4 separate regions of the Homo sapiens genome follow, and regions 2, 3 and 4 are each linked to region 1. Evidence: promoter capture Hi-C in human tissues and cell types (Jung and others, 2019). All regions are on one chromosome and are shown on one strand. The core of a region is centred on a gene start or on the middle of the fragment in contact, and the rest is flanking DNA. Distances in the headings are between cores, read along the strand shown.

The links. Contacts are between HindIII fragments. The study calls those that stand out against the background at their distance.
Region 2: a contact is called between the fragment with the promoter of PMM1 here and a fragment that was not itself captured in region 1, in 1 of the 25 tissues and cell types used here (dorsolateral prefrontal cortex).
Region 3: a contact is called between the fragment with the promoter of TOB2 here and a fragment that was not itself captured in region 1, in 1 of the 25 tissues and cell types used here (spleen).
Region 4: a contact is called between the fragment with the promoter of CSDC2 here and a fragment that was not itself captured in region 1, in 1 of the 25 tissues and cell types used here (spleen).

The regions. Positions count from the first base shown.
Region 1 is chr22:40,918,003-40,922,783 of GRCh38, forward strand. XPNPEP3 (X-prolyl aminopeptidase 3) reads left to right here. Exons shown (of 10, transcript NM_022098.4): 8 at 4,331-4,511. Among named protein-coding and RNA genes, the nearest start is that of RBX1, 31 kb to the right of the region's middle. The HindIII fragment of the contact is 3,206 bases long and covers 1,232-4,437 here.
Region 2 is chr22:41,587,029-41,591,701 of GRCh38, forward strand. It overlaps PMM1 (phosphomannomutase 1), which reads right to left and starts at 2,812. Exons shown (of 8, transcript NM_002676.3): 1 at 2,691-2,812. The coding sequence starts at 2,777. RefSeq lists an enhancer at 1,937-2,616 and a silencer at 3,011-3,160. The HindIII fragment of the contact is 27,075 bases long and covers 1-4,673 here.
Region 3 is chr22:41,443,395-41,448,074 of GRCh38, forward strand. It overlaps TOB2 (transducer of ERBB2, 2), which reads right to left and starts at 3,407. Exons shown (of 2, transcript NM_016272.4): 1 at 2,985-3,407. LOC105373043 (a long non-coding RNA gene) reads left to right here and starts at 3,551. Exons shown (of 2, transcript XR_938274.2): 1 at 3,551-4,638. RefSeq lists enhancers at 952-1,071, 3,177-3,872, 3,619-3,868, 3,873-4,568 and a silencer at 4,439-4,538. The HindIII fragment of the contact is 14,496 bases long and covers 705-4,680 here.
Region 4 is chr22:41,559,243-41,564,012 of GRCh38, forward strand. CSDC2 (cold shock domain containing C2) reads left to right here and starts at 1,768. Exons shown (of 4, transcript NM_014460.4): 1 at 1,768-1,941. LOC105373044 (a long non-coding RNA gene) reads right to left here and starts at 1,641. Exons shown (of 2, transcript NR_134631.1): 1 at 1,478-1,641. The HindIII fragment of the contact is 6,219 bases long and covers 1-2,935 here.

The DNA of each region.
Region 1 (4,781 bases), core at 1,585-4,084:
TCTGTCTAAAAAAAAAAAAAAAAAAAATCTGTAAATAACAGTACACACAAATAAAAAAAATCACAATTAACTGACTATAAACTGATATGGCTAGCATGGTGGCTCACACTGGTAATCCCAGTGTTTTGGGAGGCTGACGCAGGAGGATCAGTTGAGGCCAGGAGTTCAAAACCAGTCTGGGCAACACAGCAAGACCTCTATATCTACAAAAAATACAAAAAATTGGCCAACTATGGTGGCGCACACCTGTAATCCCAGCTACTTAGGATGCTGAGGTGGCAAAATCACTTGACCCCTGAAATTTTTGGTTACGGTGAACTATGATCACATCACTGTGCTCTAGCCTAGGTAACAGAGCAAGGCCCTGTCTCCAAAATAAAAAAGTTAGGCCAGGTGCAGTGGCTCACGCCTGTAATCCCAGCACTTTGGGAGGCCAAGGCAGGTGGATCACCTGAGGTCAGGAGTTTGAGACCAGCCTAGCCAACATGGTGAAACCCTGTCTCTACTAAAAACACACACACACACACAGAAATCAGCTGGGCATGGTGGTGGGTGCCTGCAGTCCCAGCTACTCAGGTGGCTGAGGTAGGAGAATCACTTGAACCCGGGAGGTGGAGGTCGCAGTGAGCCGAGATCACACCACTGTACTCCAGCCTGGGCAACAGAACGAGACTCCATCTCAAAAAAAAAAGTTAGGACGAGGGATATTTGTTGGTAAGATTGTCATTATTCTGGGACCTATAGAAGGGTATTCTGGGATAGTCTGCCAAGTTTTGGTGGGTTTTTTTTTTGTTGTTGTTGTTGTTTTATCTGACTGGTATTCACCTTATAATAATTTTTTTTTCTTTTTTTTTTTTTGAGACACAGTCTTGCTCTGTCGCCCAGGCTGGAGTGCAGTGGCGCAATCTTGGCTCACTGCAACCTCCGGCTCCCAGGTTCAAGCAGTTCTCCTGCCTCAGCCTCCCAAGTAGCTGGGACTACAGGCAGATGCCACCCCGCCTGGCTAATTTTTGTATTTTTAATACAGCCACTGAATAATTTCTTAAGGTTTATGTTTGATTGATTTGTTTGGCTTTTTATATCTGTGTTTTGTTTTACAATTAAAAATTTTTTAAATTTTTAAATGACAATTTTAAAGCTGAAAAGTACATTAACTGAAACAGGAAATTCACCAGGTAGACTTAACTGTAGATTGGAGACAGCAGAAGTTTGCAAACTTGAAGATAAATAGAAATTATCCAGCTGGAAGAATAGAAGTACATTGTAAAAAGGCCAGGTGCAGTGGCTCACACCTGTAATCCCAGCACTTTGGGAGGCCAAGGCGAGTGGATCACTTGAGGTCATGAGTTCGAGACCAGTCTAACCAACATGGTGAAACCCCGTCCATACTAAAATAACAAAAATTAGCTGGGTGTGGTGGCAGGTGCCTGTAATCTCAGCTACTTGGTTGGCTGAGGCAGAGAGCGATCCTCACATCTCAACCTCCCAAGTAGCTGGGATTATAGGCACGTGCCACCATGCCTGGCTAATATTTTGTTTTTTTGTAGAGACACGGTTTCGCTATGTTGCCCAGGCTGGTCTGCAACTCCTGGGCTCAAACGATTCTCTTGCCTTGGCCTGCCAAAACACTGGAATTACAGGCATGAGCCACTATGCCCAGCCAAATTCTAGGTATTTAAGAGAAATGAAAACATTTCTCAACAAAAAGGGTTGCACAAGGACATTCATAACAGCATTTATTCACAATAGTATAACAACCAAAATGTCCATCAACAGGAGAATGAATATGCAAATTGTGGTCTGTTCATACAATGGAATACCACTCAGTAATAAAAAAGAACATTTTAATTACTGATCGAATGTTTTTTGTTACTGATTGAAGCACCACCATGGATGTACTGCATAGACAACCTTCTACCCTCACTGAGCATAGATTATGTTCAGTGAAGGAAGCCAGACACAAAAGAGTATATATTATATGATTCCATTTATATGATGTTCTAGATTTGGCAAACTAAGGTCAAAATAATCACAATAGCATTTGCCTCGGAAAGTAGGGATATTGATTAGAAATGGACATGTGGGCCAGGCGTGGTGACTCATGCCTGTAATCCTAGGACTTTGGGAGGCCAAGGTAGGTGGATCACCTGAGGTCAGGAGTTCAAGACCAGCCTGGCCAACATGGCAGAAACCCATCTCTACTCAAAATACAAAAATTAGCTGGGCGTGGTGGTGGGCGCCTATAATCCCAGCTACTTGGGAGGCCGAGGCAGGAGAATCGCTTGAACCCGGTGGGGGCAGAGGTTGCAGTGAGCCGAGATCGCACCACTTCACTCCAGCCTGGGTGAAAGAGCGAAACTCCATCTCAAAAAAAGAAAAAAAGAAATGAACATGAGGAGGCTTTCAGGGGAGATGGAAATGGTCTGTATAAGGCTTGAGTCCAAAATCTATAGGGCAGACTTCAGTCCAAACTCAGGCAGGGTTTATATTATAGTCTTGAGGCAGAATTCCTTCTCCAGTATACCAAAGCAGTTGTGGCATTTGTGTTTATGTATTGTGGGTTACCTTTTGGTTTGTGTTTCAGCCAGCTAGGCAACAAACTGTTAGAACTTTTCTGACCCCTTCAGCGGCAACGTTGAATCCAGAGTCTCTGATTAGTGGACCCATATCAGTAAAGTTGCCTGATGCAACTGTGTTCCTTCTACCATTATCCCACACCATAAATATTCATTCCCACCCACATTCCCAGATTTTTGTCTTTCGGAAATTGGAAACCTCATGCAGTTCTTTTTTTGTTTTGTTTTTTTGAGACGGAGTTTCACTCTTGTTGCCCAGGCTGGAGTGCAATGGCGCAATCTCGGCTCACCACAACCTTCGCCTCCCAGTTTCAAGCGATTCTTCTGCCTCAGCCTCCCGAGTAGCTGGAATTACAGACATGCACCACCATGCCCAGCTGATTTTGTATTTTTAGTAGAGATGGGATTTCTCCATGTTGGTCAGGCTGGTCTCGAACTCCCGACCTCAGGTGATCCACCCGCCTCGGCCTCCCAAAGTGTTGGGATTACAGGCGTGAGCCACCGCGCCCAGCCCCTCATGCAGTTCTTTTTGGTGTGGAGTGGACCTCCTCATGGGTCAAGCTTTCTGCCTAACTTGGAGCCTGCTGGGACTTGAGTGTAGTTACAATTCTAGTAGAACCAAGGCAACTGCCTCAAGGGACATACCTACAAGTTTTCAGGCAAAACAGGGTTAACCTTCTCAGACGGGGGTGGAAGGGCCACTTCTGCTGGCAACGAAGACTCAGCAGAATTTAGGAGTTCATTGTTCCCAGCTTCAATAGGTTTGGTACATGAATTTGTCAAAATTGTACCGTTCAAATGTATGCATTTTAGTGTATATAAAGACACTTTGGGAGGCCAAGGCAGGAGGATCGTTTGAGCTGAAGAGTTCCAGACCAACCTGGGCAACATAGTGAGACCTTGTCTCTAAAAAAAAAAAAAAAAAAAACTATTACAAAAATGATTATTTAGTAATACTGTGGTGGGCTGGGGTATGGGTACATTATGCTGTGGGTTTCTTATGCTATTATAGTTAAGCATTCTTCTATTAGGGGACATTTAGAGTTTGTCTAATAATTTACAATTATAAAATTACAGCGAACATTTTAGTACATTCAGCTTTTTTGAATTTCAAATATTTTCTTTGGATATATTAGAGTAGAATTATAAGCTCTAGTTATATGAGCATCTTTAAGGCCTTTGATGTAATTGGCTGTATTAATTTATACTCCTATCAACAGTATGTGAGAATACATATCATGTATCATCCCAGGTCACTTTTTTATCTCGTAATTGCTAAAGAAACTGTTATTCTAAAGACACTTAAGTGCTAGTACATTACTAGTAGCCCAGATGTTGACTAGTTTATCCCATGGTATCTGCTTCACCTGTCAGAAGTGGGTCCCTAGGCTTTCTTGCCTTTTTTTTTAATGGTAGTCTATGCTGTAAGGGATTAAACAGGATCATGGCTGAGCCTCATCTGCCCACTGACTGCACTCATGGCTCAGTGCTTCTTTTGGCCCTACTTCATGTCTCTCCTGACCATTTGAAGAAGAGACTGTGTTGCTGCTCCAGCTTGAAGGATTGTTGCCCTTCCTACTGAGCACCTAGGACATGATTGAGCTCCTGGCCATATTGATAGATTGGTACTTATTAAACATCAACAGTGCCCCAGCAACAGCAGCATCTTGGGGTTTTTCTAATCAAACTTAGTAGCAAACTTCTTAGAATATCAGATTATCTAAGTTCAGGTTCTTTGGTTTTCCCGTCCCCAGGTTCACCGCACCTCAGGCAGAACTCTATGAAGCCGTTCTAGAGATCCAAAGAGATTGTTTGGCCCTCTGCTTCCCTGGGACAAGCTTGGAGAACATCTACAGCATGATGCTGACCCTGATAGGACAGAAGCTTAAAGACTTGGGGATCATGAAGAACATTAAGGAAAATAATGCCTTCAAGGTACTTCACTTCTCTTGACCCCAGTTCTCAAGAACACCTAGCATGCTGCTAGGTTTTTACCCTATATAAAGCTAATTAGACTTAGAAATGGGACAGATGTAGTGATTCATGCCTGTAATCCCAGTAGTTTAGGAGGCTGAGGCAGGAGGATTGCTTGAAGCCAGCCTGGGCAACATAGCAAGACCCATCTATATACATGTAGATATATACACACACACACACACACACACACATATATATATACACACACATACGTAGATATATATACAT
Region 2 (4,673 bases), core at 1,562-4,061, 670 kb after region 1:
AGGCCGAGGCGGGTGGATCACAAGGTCAGGGGATTGAGACCATCCTGGCTAACATGGTGAAACCCTGTCTCTACTAAAAAATACAAAAAAATTAGCCGGGCGTGGTGGCACGCGCCTGTAGTCCCAGCTACTCGGGAGGGCTGAGGCAGGAGAATGGCGTGAACTTGGGAGGCAGAGCTTGCAGTGAGCTGAGATCACGCCACTGCACTCCAGCCTGGGCGACAGAGCGAGACTCCGTCTCAAAAAAAAAAAGAAAAAAAAATTAGCTGGGCGTGGTGGCAAGCGCCTGTAATCCCAGCTACTCAGGAGGCTGAGGCAGGAGAATCCCTTGAACCCGGGAGGTGGAGGTTGCAGTGAACCGAGATCATGCCATCGCACTCCAGCCTGGGGGACAAGAATGAGATTTCATCTCCAAAAAAAAAAAAAAAAAAAGATATTAGCCAGGCATGGTGGCACTTGCCTGTAGTCCCAGCTACCAGCTACTCCAGAAGCTGAGGCGGGAGAATCACTTGAGCCCAGGAGTTCGAGGCTGCAGTGAGCTGTGATAGCGCCACTGCACTCCAGACTGAGTGACAGAGTGAGACCCCGGTCTCTAACAACAACAACAACAAAATAGCATCACAATCAAGTTGATTTTTGAGGAGCCAAAGAACAATAACAAAAATAGCCTCACAAAACAATGCTTAATATTTGCTCTGGGCAAATAGATCCAGATAAAGGCCTGGAGGGAAGCCACACCACAGTAACCACATTAACTTGGGGAGCCGGCCAGGCTCCCCAAGTGCGGTCAGAGTGGACTTTACCCTTCTCTGTTACGTTTCCATTCTTTACCAGGAGAGTGTGCTCATGAAAATGTGTACGATTAAAAATTAACTTTCAAAAGGCACTAAGCACAGAGGCTGGCCCGTAGACAAATTAATAGGCTGTTCTTATTCAGGTTGTTATGTTTGTGGAGCAAAAGGTCAGAGGGAGGAGTCAGAACTGTGCCTAGGCCCTGCCACTTTTGTTCCAGTTCTTTTATTCATTTATTTGTTTGTTTGAGACGGAGTTTCACTCTTGTTGCCCAGGCTGGAGTGCAATGGCACAATCTTGGCTCACTGCAACCTCCACCTCCTGGGTTCAATCGATTCTCCTGCCTCTGCCTCCCCAGTAGCTGGGACTACAGGCACACGACACCACGCCCATCTACTTTTTGTTTTGTTTTGTTTTGAGACTGAGTCTCCCTCTGTCGCCCAGGCTGTAGTGCAATGGCACATTCTCGGCTCACTGCAACTTCTGCCTCTCGGGTTCAAGTGATTCTCCTGCCTCAGCCTCCCGACTAGCTAGGATTACAGGTGCATGCCACCACGCCTGGCTAATTTTTTGTATTTTTAGTAGAGATAGGGTTTCACGATATTGGTCAGGCTGGTCTTAAACTCCTGACATCGTGATCTGTCTGCCTCGGCCTCCCAAAGTGCTGGGATTACAGGCGTGAGCCACTGAACCCAGCCTAATTTTTGTATTTTTAGTAGAGACGGGGTTTCACCATGTTAGCCAGACTGATCTAGAATTCCTGACCTCAGGTGATCTGCCCACCATGGCCTCCCAAAGTGCTGGGATTACAGGCGTGACCCACAAGCAAATGGCCCACCTTTGCTCCAGTCCTGCTATCTTCCTCCCGGATCCACCCCTGCAGGAAGGCCTCCAGGGCCCAAGCCAGGGCAACTTCACCACAGAGGATGGGGAGGGGCATTCGGGACCTAAGAGAGGAGGCTAAGACCTGGGTTCCCATCAGCCACTGCCCAGTAAAGCCCATCCCACTGCTCCCCCACGCTAGGAGACCTGTTGGTTGGTCCTTGAGGCCCCCAGACTGGAGGGTGGGTTACCCACAGGGAGGGCATGAATGAAGCCTGCTTACTGATGCATCCAGCTGGTGAGGGGGCTTTTGGGGACTCACTCACAATGAGACCCAATGGGAGAAAAACTGAGCAGAGGTAAGAGGCTCAACACAGCGAGAGTCTTTAGAAGAAAACTAGACTCTTACCCTCACTATTCCTCAGTGTCCTCACAGCAAACAGGCTAGGCCTGGAGCCTCTCACATCCGGGTGGGTAGAGCTCATAAACGAATTTGAAAAGAAGCCCTCTCTGCTCCACGACTGGGGGTGGAAGGTAAAGTGGGTGATGGGGCTTCAGAAACTAGACCCAGTCCCAGGCCTGCAAAGGTCGGGGTGGGAAGACTCCGAGACGCCCTGTCTCCCACCAGATGATGACTGACGCTTGGCTGTGTGCTTGTGTGCCTGGAACCCCGGTTCAGAAGCCAGCTCCGACCACTGGTGTGTCGTAGGGCTGAACTAGGGTGGGATCCCCAGCTCAGGAGGCGGGGGCGTCCGTGAGCCAGGCCTTAGCGGCGTGTGACAGCCTCCGGGGAGGGAGGGAGCTAGGCCCCTGCTCGCAGCCTCCTCCCTCCAGTACTGGATCCAACCCCAGCACTCCCAAGCAGAACACAGGCAAGGACGCTGCGGGGTCAGTGACGTGAGGGCCAGGTCCCCTCACTCCCGGTGGGTGGCCCCGGATGTCAGGGGGCCGGGTACCGCCGCATCCCACACTCGGTCCCCGGGTGTCCACGGTCACGCTGCTGCAGACCCCACACTCAGCCTCGGGGGTGTCCGCGTGACACTCCCGGTGGGAGCTTCCAATCTTCAGGGTCCTACCTGGCGAGCCGGCGTGAGGGTCCCGTCCACGTCAAACAGGCAGAGGACGCGCTCCTTCCTGCGGGCTGCCTGGGCGGTGACTGCCATGGCTGCAGGTCCGCGCGCGGGGCGGAGTCCCGAAGATGCAACGGCAGAAGCAGCTCAGGGATAAGTGCTGACGGGGCGGGGCATTAGGGGGCGGGGGCCAGTGGACTGCCTGATTGGCCAAATGAAGAAGGGGCGTGGTCTAGGCGGGCGGAAGCGGGGGCGGGGCCTGAGCTGATTCTCATTGCTCGTGGAGGAGGGGAGCGCGGCATAGGGCGGAGCGGAGCCCTCCAGGTTCGATTGGATTGCTCCAAACAAGGCGGAGGAGGGGCCTGAGCCTGGGACCCGCAGGAAGTGAGAGGGTGAACCCGGAAGACAGGGGCGGGGCCAGAATTGGCGGGTTGATAGTGATTGCAACAGGCCGATTAAGGGGCTGGGTCGGGCGGGGCCTCTACCATGCAGTGCAGTGTCTAGTGGGCCAGGCGGGACTAAGAGAGCCGAGGTCGCTCCCCATCCACTCTCACAAGGTTTGTGGCCATCTCTTTGCCTTACAAATTTTGAGCTGTAGGAAATCTCCTGAGCCGGGCGCGGTGGTTCACGCCTGTAATCCCAGCAGTTTGGGACGTCGAGGCGGGCGGATCACCGGAGGTCGGGAGTTCGAGACCAGCCTGACCAACATGGAGAAACCTCGTCTCTACTAAAAATACAAAATTAGCCAGGCGTGGTGGCGCATGCCTGTAATCTCAGCTACTCAGGAGGCTGAGGCAGGAGAATCGCTTGATTCCAAAGAAGCCAGAGGTTGCGGTGAGCCGAGATCGCGCCATTGCACTCCAGCCTCAAAAAAAAAAAAAAAAAAAAAAAAGGAAAGAAAAGAAAAGAAAAGAAATCTCCTGAAGGCCTTTGTTCAGGCTTTGGACTTTGCCAAATTGCCTTCCCCGAGCCTTATTCCTTCTGTCCACACATAAGACCCAGCTCTCAGGGTCTACCTGCTTGGAGACCTTCCCAGATTCTTCTTTTTTTTTTTTTTTTTTGAGACAGAGTCTCGCTCTGCCCAGGCTGGAGTGCAGTGGCGGGATCTCTGCCCACTGCAACCTCCACCTCCCAGGTTCAAGCGGTTCTCATGCCTCAGCCTCCCGAGTAGCTGGGACTGCAGGCGTGTGCCACCATGCCCACCTAATTTTTGTATTTTTACTTACTTTTATGTTTATTTTATTTTATTTTTGACACAGGGCGATTTATTTATTTATTTATTTATTTTTTGAGACTGGGTCTCACTCTGTTACTCAGGTTGGAGTGCAGTGGCATGATCTCGGCTCACTGCAACCTCCGCCTCCCAGGTTCAAGTGATTCTCCTGCCTCAGCCTCCTGAGTAGCTGAAACTACAGAAGTGCGCCACCACGCCCGGCTAATTTTTTTTTTTTTTCTGAGACGGAGTTTTGCTCTTGTTGCCCAGGCTGGAGTGCAATGGCACGATTTCAGCTCACCACAACCTCTGCCTCCCGAGTAGCTGGGATTATTTTGTACCCACTACCACGCTCGGCTAATTTTTTATTTTTAGTAGTAATTTTGTATTTTCACCATGTTAGCCAGGCTGGTCTCGAACTCCTGGCCTCAGGTGATCTGCCTGCCTCAGCCTCCCAAAGTGCTGGGAATACAGGCATGAGCCACCGTTCCCAGCCAACCTTCCCAGATTCGATTCACAATTATTTAACCATTGCGTTGACTTTGGAGTCACTTCCAGGTTGCCTTCCCAGCTCCACCACTATGGGACCTTGGACAAGTCACTTCACCTCTCAGAGGCTTTGTGTCTTCACCTATAAAATGGGATGAACACCACCTGCTTTGTAGGTTTGCTTTTCACATGAAAATAAGTAACAGGCTGGGCGCGGTGGCTCACGCCTGTAATCCCAACACTTTGGGAGGCCGGGATGGGCAGATCACCTGAGGTCATGAGTTTGA
Region 3 (4,680 bases), core at 2,157-4,656, 530 kb after region 1:
CTGCAACCTCCGCCTCCTGGGTTCAACCAATTCTCCCGCCTCAGCCTCCCGAGTAGCTGGGATTATAGGCACGCGGGACCACGCCCGGCTAATTTTTGTATTTTTAGTAGAGACGGGGCTTCACCATGTTGGCCAGGCTGGTCTCGAAATCTTGACCTCGTGATCCGCTCGCCTCCGCCTCCCAAAGTGTTGGGATTACAGGCGTGAGTCACTGCCTAGCCAGAAGATTTTTTTTTTTTTTTTTTTGAGATGGAGTTTCGGTTTTGTTGCCCAGGCTGGAGTGCAATGGCGCGATCTCGGCTCACCGCAACCTCCGCCTCCCAGGTTCAAGCGATTCTCCTGCCTCAGCCTCCCGAGTAACTGGGATTACAGGAATGCGCCACCACGCCCGGCTAATTTTGTATTTTTAGCAGAGACGGGGTTTCTCCAAGTTGGTCAGGCTAGTCTCGAACTCCCGACCTCAGGTTATCCGCTGCCCGCCTCAGCCTCCCAAAGTGCTGGGATTACAGGCGTGAGCCACCGCACCCGGCCGGAAGGTTTTTCAGAAAGAAAATTCTGTTTCAAAGAGGAAAAGGAGGGATAATGGTGATGGAATCCACTGAGCCCCAAACCCAAAAAGATACTCAGACACCTCTAAGCCTTAAATGTGCAAACTGTCCTACAATGACGGACTACAGGACTCAACTAAGTGTGGAGGGGCCAGCAGGTGTCACAGACCGGGTGGATGCGAGTGCCCTGCCGCTGTCCGGGGAGTGAGAGCCAAACGCAGGCAGCTCCTCTCCTTGGTGAGACACGGGATCCGCCCCAACTCGCTGGTCCCAGAGGCAGCGGCCCAGACAGGCGGGTGTGTATTGAAAGGCTTCCAGGACTGGTGCTGACTGACTGCAACACCGCGCCCAGTCTCTCATCATCTCCCCCTAGACACAGACCGGTCAACCTTAGGTCTGACAACAAGGCCCCTTTCGGCTATGAAGACCCTTTCTAGGGCACTCCATGTTCCTCAGGAGCTAGGAAAACTCGACTCAACCCAAACGTAGGCGGAGAGGCGGGCGGTGAGGGCCCGCTCTGCACTCTGGGAATTGTAGTCCTCAAACACCTCCGGACCAGGCGATAGCAGGAGTGACCTACTTTCCCTGCACACTACACTTCCCTGAGCACTTTGCGAAGGCCCAACTGGCCGCAATACGCATGCCCGGTAAGGGGAGCCGACCGAGGGTCGAAGAGCCCAGGAAAAGTTTCCGATGCACATGCGCGCTGAGGCGGGTCGGCGCCCCCCTCCCATCGCCTAATACATTTCATGTAGATTCTACCCAAAAGGCCTACTCCCCGTATTGTATGGCCCCACCACATCCTCTAGGCTTTACGAGAGCCTAACTTTCCCACCTTTCCCTTCATCGCCTCCCATTACTGATGAAACTAGGATCTGCTTCTAATGAGTTTTTTCTGGGTGAAGGGGGTGGGCTGGCTTAGATAAGGTCACGACCCCCTTCCCCCCACCCAATCTGAATTCCAGGGCCTGGGCGGTCCGTGTGGGGTTGCTGGATGGACGGTGGATTCAAAGGGAAACGGATCTTTTTCACTTAATGCCTAGCGGACTCGGCTCCAGCACCCCAAACAGCCAGGAAAGGAAAGGCAGGAATCAAACCCAGTTCTCCCGTCCTCTCGGCCAAAGAAATTTCCAGTCAAGCTGTGGGGAGGCGCCAGGCCAAGGCCAGCAGGGCCCAAGCCTCACCCCATTTCTAATCGAAGACTGAGTAACCAGATCCGGGAGAGGGAAATAGGAAAAGGTTCCCAGGCAGAGAAGAAAAAAACTGTACACCTGACACCTGAGCATCTTCTCATACTAAAATTCTGTGTGTCTCCTCCCATTGCAAGGTCTGCTTTACGACCAGACTTACCAGATCCTCGGCAAGCTCCCCCGCTGGGTGTTAAACCTCCTTAATCCTTCCTCCCACACAAGCTTCTTTCCCCCTATGCTTCACGGAGGGATGGGGGTAGAAGCCCAAGAAAGCAATAGGATTGTTTTTCTGCCGGAAAATCAGAGATGAAGGACCCATTCCCAGGGTACGGTGGGTAAGAAGGAGAAAAAGACCGTTTAGATACGGAGTAGCACCAGAGACTGGCCTCCACCCGTCCCCAAGCTGAAGCTTGCTGTGCGGGGTTCTGGTTTCTCCTGGGGGAGGGAGAGGGCCTGCCGGCTGTGCCTCCTCTCTGCACCCTCCTTCCCCTCCCAGATTTCTGGTGGTCAAGGGCACAGTTCATCCTCCGGACAGGAGGGGAAGGAGTTTGGGGGTAGGGCCCCACCTCGCAGGCACCTTACCAAGATAAGCAGAATCCACTCACTGGCACTGCTCTAAGGGTACTTTTTTCTGCCCAATTTTCCATTAAAACACTTAAGAGTATAAAGAGCTCAGCCGAAACGGTGAACTCTGGCTCAGTGGCCCAAGGACAATCTCCACTGACCTGTCCCGTCGCCAAAGGGGGTGTCCACCCTCCACCCTTCAGGCTCCACAGAGCCAGAAATAGAGTCTATTAACAATTACCACCCCCCTTCCCTGCACACGGGAAAAGAAGCAGAAAAACAAGGCCTGGATCCCCTTCCTTCCTCGGATTTATTTAACGGTGGGGGGAGTTATGTTTCTTTGGAGAACAAGGAAGATCTAGCGAGTAGCTAGGATATAAAGAACCGGGGGAGGCGGGGAAGGGAGGAAATGCACCCCACCCAGGAGAGGGCCACTCTTGGAACTGGGAGAAAAAGGAGCTCTTGGGCACCCCAGGAGCACAGATGGCGTGAGAAGAGGAGCTGGGGAAAGTGGGGTCTGGAGGGAAGCTGGATGGGGAAAGAAAATGCTGGCCAGGCGGGGAGGGAGCGGCAGCAACGTGGAGAGTCCAGCAAAGCGGGAGTGGGGCGGGGTGGAAGAGGTAGTCCGGCCGGCTGGGTCTCGGGGCGGGCCCCCCGCCCGCACGCCCCCCAACTCACTCACTCGGGTCTCCGCGGCGGCGGGGCGCTCTACCGGCCGCGGGGCGGCTTCTCCCTCCAGGGTGGCCTGAGCGCGGGGCGGAGGTCGCTCTCCTTTCCTTCCCGGGCGTCGCCGGGCCAGGGGACCGAAGTCCTTTTCGTCGTTGAGGGTTGGGGGACGAAGCAGGGGGCTATGGACTATGACTCTCAATAATTTCTTTCAGCTCTTAGGAGGTCGGGCTCGGCAGCGGGGGGCCCGAGGGCGGGCGGGCGGACTAGCGGCGACGACGCGGGGATGGCGGATCGGAGGGTGGTTCGTGTCGCGCAACGGCAGACGGTATGGGCTGTCGCCGGCAGACGGTCCTGCCCTCCTGGCCCCGCGTCGCCCGAGCCACGGCTTGCCTCAGCCAACAACCCGCACCTTCCCGCGCCCCGGCCCGAAGTGAGCAAAGTCAATGAAAAGTTTCACCCTTAGCAACCCTGCGCACGGATCCGGCTTCCCCACCCCTGCGTGATGCGTCCCTCCGCCCTGCAGGGGCGGGGCCAGGGCCCGGCCGGGACTACTTCCCAGCCAGCCCCGCGCCTCAGCTCGCTGGTATCTCGCGGAGCAGCTCCTGTGCCCTTCTGTGCTCGCCGGTCGTGCGTCCGGCTCCCCGTCTTCCCCTCCCTGTCACAGCGCCGCGCCGCACTCCTTTCCTTCATTCCCATACCACTCTGAACTTGTGCGCGTCGTGTGAGGTGTTCTCCCAGGGGCGCTCCGTGAGGGCCGGGGACCACCTGGGGCCGGGTTGCTCACGAGCCGGGCACAGTGCACTCTCCCTTTAGTTGTGTTTGGGGGACGAGTATCGCGGGGGAGGGGAGGGAGTCACCATGCCCGCCGGAAACCCCCCGCTGAGTCGTCCGCCCTGCACCTGCCTCGGAGCCCATGGTTCGGACGTTTGCCCGAGCCGTTTCCCGGGGCCTTCCCTCCAGCTCCGAGCGTCTGGCCGTGTCCGCGGCGATAGCATCGCCCCGTTACGGCCTCTGCGGGAGGGGGAACTGAGGGGACGACGCGGGCTCTGGAAACATTTCGGACCCGTTTCGGGCAGGCATGAGTCTTCCGAGCGCCTTGTGATTCCTCGGGGGGCTCAACGTCGAAAGAAAGGCGAGGGAGACTCTGGGGCCTGGGCCACGCTGTGCGGGAGTAAGAGGAGCCGAGGACGAGGCTGACGGCCGTGAAACTAGCCGAGTGCCACAAAGGACCTTCCCCTCACCGCCTCTGGCGCTCCTTTCCTTGCAGCCTGGAGGGCCGGCTCTGGCTCTGCGCAGGCGCGCGGGCGCAGCCCCTCTCCCAACTCTTGTTTGCTCTTTCTGGCCAGCGACCCCAGTGTGGGGCACGCGGGAGAGCCCCACATTTCTTCTAGTCGCAGTCCCGCCGGCGTGGGGTGGCCCCTGACCGTGCAACGGGCGCAAGGCTCGCACCCACTACGGCCCCTCGGGCGGCGGAGCGAGGCTCCGCGAACCCGGGACTGGGCGCGCCAGGCCCGCGCGCTGAGGCCCCCTCCCCCGGCTCTGGCCACGCGGGCTGCTCTGCCTCTGTGAGTGTGCGGGACACAGAGCCAGGGGGAGGGAGGGCCGTGTTCTGCGGTCACAGGCAGACAGGAGTGCCGGAAGATGCAGTCTGGAGCCCCCGGGGGACTGTGAGTGAGGTCTTCTCCCCGGTCCCTCCTTAGATCTCCCAT
Region 4 (4,770 bases), core at 518-3,017, 640 kb after region 1:
GGGTAACAAAGCAAGACCCTGTTTCAAAAAAGAAAAAATAAATAAATAAAAAGGAGGAAAGAGAGAGGAGAATTTAAAGGGGAAGGGAGGCTCCTCTGGGTAGAGTTCTCAGGTGGGGCTGTGAAATAAAATCAGAACCCTGGCTGGGCGCGGTGGCTCACGTCTGTAATCCCAGCACTTTGGGAGGCTGAGGTGGGTGGATCACGAGGTCGGGAGATCGAGACCATTCTGGCCAACATAGTGAAACCCTGTCTCTACTAAAAATACAAAAAAATTAGCTGGGTGTGGTGGTGTGTGTCTGTAGTCCCAGCTACTCAGGAGGCTGAGGCAGGAGAATCGCTTGAACCCGGGAAGCGGAGGTTGCAGCGAGCTGAGATCAAGCCACTGCCCTCCAGCCTGGGCGACACAGCAATACTCTCTAAAAAAAATAATAATAATTCAGAACATCCCCAGGTAACCACAGGCAGCATTTCTCAACAGTCTCTCCTGCAGAACCAGAAACCCAGACTGTCTGAGCCTGATTGTCCTGAGAGGTTCTGGAAGGGCAGGGGCGTGTGGTGACACTGGGTGCTCCTGGGTTCCAGTACCTCTCTAGCCAGTTGGAAGAATATAGGCAAGTCAAGTCCTTCCTCCTCCCTGAGCCTCTAATTCCTCACCGGTAAAGTAGGGATGATAAAAATAAATTATTAAATTGTTGTGAGGTTTCAATGAGGGCAAAGCTTGCTGCCTGAAACAGAGCAAGCTCTTGTGGCGTCTTAGCTATTTGTATTAGTTACTTGTATTTTTCTCTGCGGTTTCCCTTTTAACTCCCACCTCCTTTTTATTTTAAAAAGACTCCTTTTGAAAATGCCAGCCTGCCTCAGTAGTACCAGGAGACACCAGGGAAAGGCTTCCTTCTTTCCAAGCTGAGGCTGAGAAGGAATGGGAAGAACGAAGAGAAGCACCTTTGTGGAGGCCTCCTCCAGCTGGCCCTGGGTTTAGGAACATCACACACTCAACCTCCAAAGGCCCTCAGGGGCTGGCCCAAGGTCACACAGCTTGACAGTGCGGAGCACTTCGAAGCCAGGGCGTGTGGTGTAGAACAGGCTGGGTGCCTGAATTCAATCAGCCCTCTCTACTTCTCTACTCAGAGCCTCCCAGGCTGTGGGGTGTTCACCTGTGCACCTTCAAGCCGATCACTTCCTTGGGGTCCTCGTCAATTCAATTCCATGGAAATATTACAAGGGGTAGACAGAGATGAGCCGTGTCAGTGTCTGTACTAGCAGAGGGCAGGACCACTGAGCGTCCGGAGGGGAGACGAGTGTCTGGGTGTCCCTGGGAACCTGGCTTGTCTCGACCCCTCTGGGGGGCTCCTCTTGGCTCTGACCTCCATTCTCCCAGACTCACCCCCACTCATGCCCACCCACCCCGAGGGGCCCCCCAGTGTGCACTCACACACTCACACTCAAACTCACCACCCCACTTGCTCTCTAATTACCAGGAACGTGGCGCTGTCTCAGGTTCTTCCTCCCCTGCATTCCTCAGCAGCTGCCCTCACTGGGCAGGGCAAATTATACCGTGGCCCGACCATAAAAGCCACTTTCCAAAAAAAGAAGCTTTAAGGCCCCCGAGAGACGCAGCTGAGCCTCTCACCTGGCAGTGCCTGACTCAGGAGGTGATGTCTGGGCCATGAGCCACAGAGCCTGGTGTCCCTTTAAGCAGGGAGTACAAATTCTCATCCCTCCCTCCTGCTCTCCCTGACGTCAGCTGGAAGGCGTGTGAGTGAGTGAGGGGCTGAGGTACCGCCCGCGCGAGCACACACAGACACACACACACACACACACACACACACACACACACATCTTCCAGACCCATCCCCTGCCTGCCAGCTCCACGAGCCAGAGAGAGACAGAGCGCGGACGCCGCAGGAGGCAGTGCCTGGACCCCAGCTGCCCAGGAGAGGTGAGGGGCTAGATGGGGCCTGAGGACACTGTGCCAGAAACTGTGGCTTTGGCCAGGCCGAAGGAGAGAGGTACAACGTGAAGGTGGGGGCTGGATCAGCCCAGTTCAGCTTACAGATAGGGTGTTGGGGGTATAGAGGATACCACCTGTCTCTCCCTCCCTCATTCTCTCCCCGTGACCCCCAAATGAGGTGAGGCCGTGTGGCTCCCGTGGGAGCATGTCTGTGTCTGTGTCTGTGTCTGTGTCTGGGACCTGCGTCTGGCTCAGGAGGCAGAGAGCAGCAGATACCTGCCAAGCCGCAGCCTCCTGTCTGGGAAGCAGCGGGAGAGAGGACCGCCTTGACCAGAGAAACCCCAGTGCCGCTTCCAGTTGCTGAAAGCAGAGTGCAGCAGGGACCCTTGCTGGTCCTTCCCCTGGAATGTTGGGCTGGGAAGGGACCGGCTGGGAAAGGCAGACAGTTGGACCTGGAGCAGCTGTCTTATCCTGACTCTATTTTTTCCCCAGTGTGATGGGGATAATTGTGTTAGTTGGCTTAGAGAGGTGGCTCCGTGTGGTTATTCTCTTCCCCCAGGTACCACCCCACCCCGAGCCCTTGCTTCTTGCCTGCCTGCTGGTCTGCTCTGACCTCCACCCTTGCCAGGGCACAGCCCCCGGAGGGCAGGGGTGATAAGTCAGGGCCTGCCAGGCCTCTATCTTGGGATACAGGGACTTAGGGTGGCCTTGGCTGGTGCCAAGCCCATGAATGGCCTGACCCTGGCACAAGGAGTCCAGGCGGAGATAAGGGGCGACGCTGGCACCCACAAGGAGACAGCAGGTTCCTGCCAAGCTGCCAGCCTGCAGGCTCTTCCCAGGGAGAGGGGAGGGGGACACAGAGCGAGAACAATAATAAATACAGAGTGTGAACTGCTGCATCCACTGGGGCTGGGGTAGGAGAGGAGGAAGTATGCCCAGTGGGGGGTGGGCAACCTCTCTGAGAGCCTGGCATCATGCTGCCTGGCTGTGATCCGGCAGGGGCCTCTCCCTGGGAAAGGGGGTCTCCAGCTTTCTGGGGGATGGGGAACTGGTTTCCCAAACCTGACTCCATCCCAGAGTCCTCTGGACCCTCCAAATTCTGAATGTTTCCTCCTCCCAGCTTTGCCCTGCCGCCCCCCATTTCCTTGAAGTCTTCTCCAAAAATGTCTGTTTTCTGTGTCTGCCCATCTTGACCCATCCTCACCCCCTTCAAAAAAAAAAAAAAAGACAGGTATAGACAGGAACTGCCTGCCCGTGTCCTGGGAAAGGCCAGAGGACAGTTTTGGCCACAGATGGCTCTCCCAGGCTTGGAGAGACATGGCTAGGCAATGTTCACGGATGCGCAGGGGGATTCCCTGAGGGGGACTTGGGGACACTCTCAGATGGCTGGTGGGGAGGGGACACCTGCCAGCCAGTCTGGAGTAGAGCCCCCTAGGGGGTAGAGGGCGCTCAGGACCTGGCTGAGCCAGTCATGTCCACGGTCACAACTGGGGCAGCCAGGACCCAGAGCCTTGTAGGAATGGGGCTTGGGGCAGTTCAGACCTTTGTCCATGCTGAGCAGCAAAATGGGAGGCTAAAAGTAGTAGGGAGCTCTTCTGCCCCACAGCCAGCAAAATGACACTCCTGGGCTGGGGGGCTGGCATGGCACACCAGAAAGCTGTGGGGTCACACTGATTGGAGTTCAAGTTCAGATGCTGTATGTATGTATGACTTTGACCAGTCTATTCCTCTCTCTAGGGGGTCTCAAAATGGGAAAGTGACTTGCCTAGGGTCGCACAGCCAAGCACAGGTGGGACTGGGGTGCGTATTTGGCTCTCCCAGTGCCGTCCTGGTTTCCCCACCACCACCCAAGCCACAGAAGCCCAAAGGCCTTAACCACAGCAGTTCCCCAGGGCAGCCTGGGCATGTGACAAGGAGGACTACAGGGTCTCTTAAATAATTAAGCTCAAGTATTGGCTGGGGCAGCCCTCATGCACAGACGCAGGCACACAGGCTGTGTGGGGGAAGGACCAGGTTTAATCAGGTCACCTCAGGCTGCAAGAGCAGTTCAGGCACTGATGTATTTTAAGGAGCATCTGGGAGGCTGGGGGAGGGGGAGGAGCCAGGGAAGTGTCAGCTCCTGCCCGGGGGTCCTGAGTTTGTTTTCTCACTCTCCCAGGGCCCACCATGCACAAGCTCCCGATGTTCGGGAAGCCCTTCCAGCGTCATCCTTGTGTTCCCCGTCCTTTCTATTTTTAAACCACCGTACCCATTCCTCCCATCTGCTCCCCTGTGATGGGGGCTTGGGGCTGGGACATTTTTATTGGGGGAGTTGTTTTTAAGCTTAGCAGAGTTGGTGAGTGACTCACCCAAGGTCATGGTCTGAGTCAGCGCAAAGCCAGAAATAAAAGCCCCAGTCCTGGCTCCCCAGGAATTCCACACCCGACTCCTCCTTCTCCAGGGGAGGGTGGGCGCCACCCTCAAGGAATGGCTGGTCTTCACCTCCCCAGACATCTCCAGAGGGCAGATATGCTGCACCTGACCTGCTGTGAGAGCTCAGCGAGGCTCTTCACCTCTCTGAGCCTCAGTTTACTCTTTAGAAGATGGGTGTACTAAGCCAGGCGCAGTGGCTCATGCCTGTAATCCCAGCACTTTGGGAGGCTGAGGCGGGCGGATCACGAGGTCGGGAGATCGAGACCATCCTGGCTAACACGGTGAAACCCCGTCTCTACTAAAAATACAAAAAAAAAAAAAGAAAAATTAACCGAGCGTGGTGGCGGGCACCTGTATTCCCAGCTACTCGGGAGGCTGAGCCAGGAGAATGGCGGGAACCTGGGA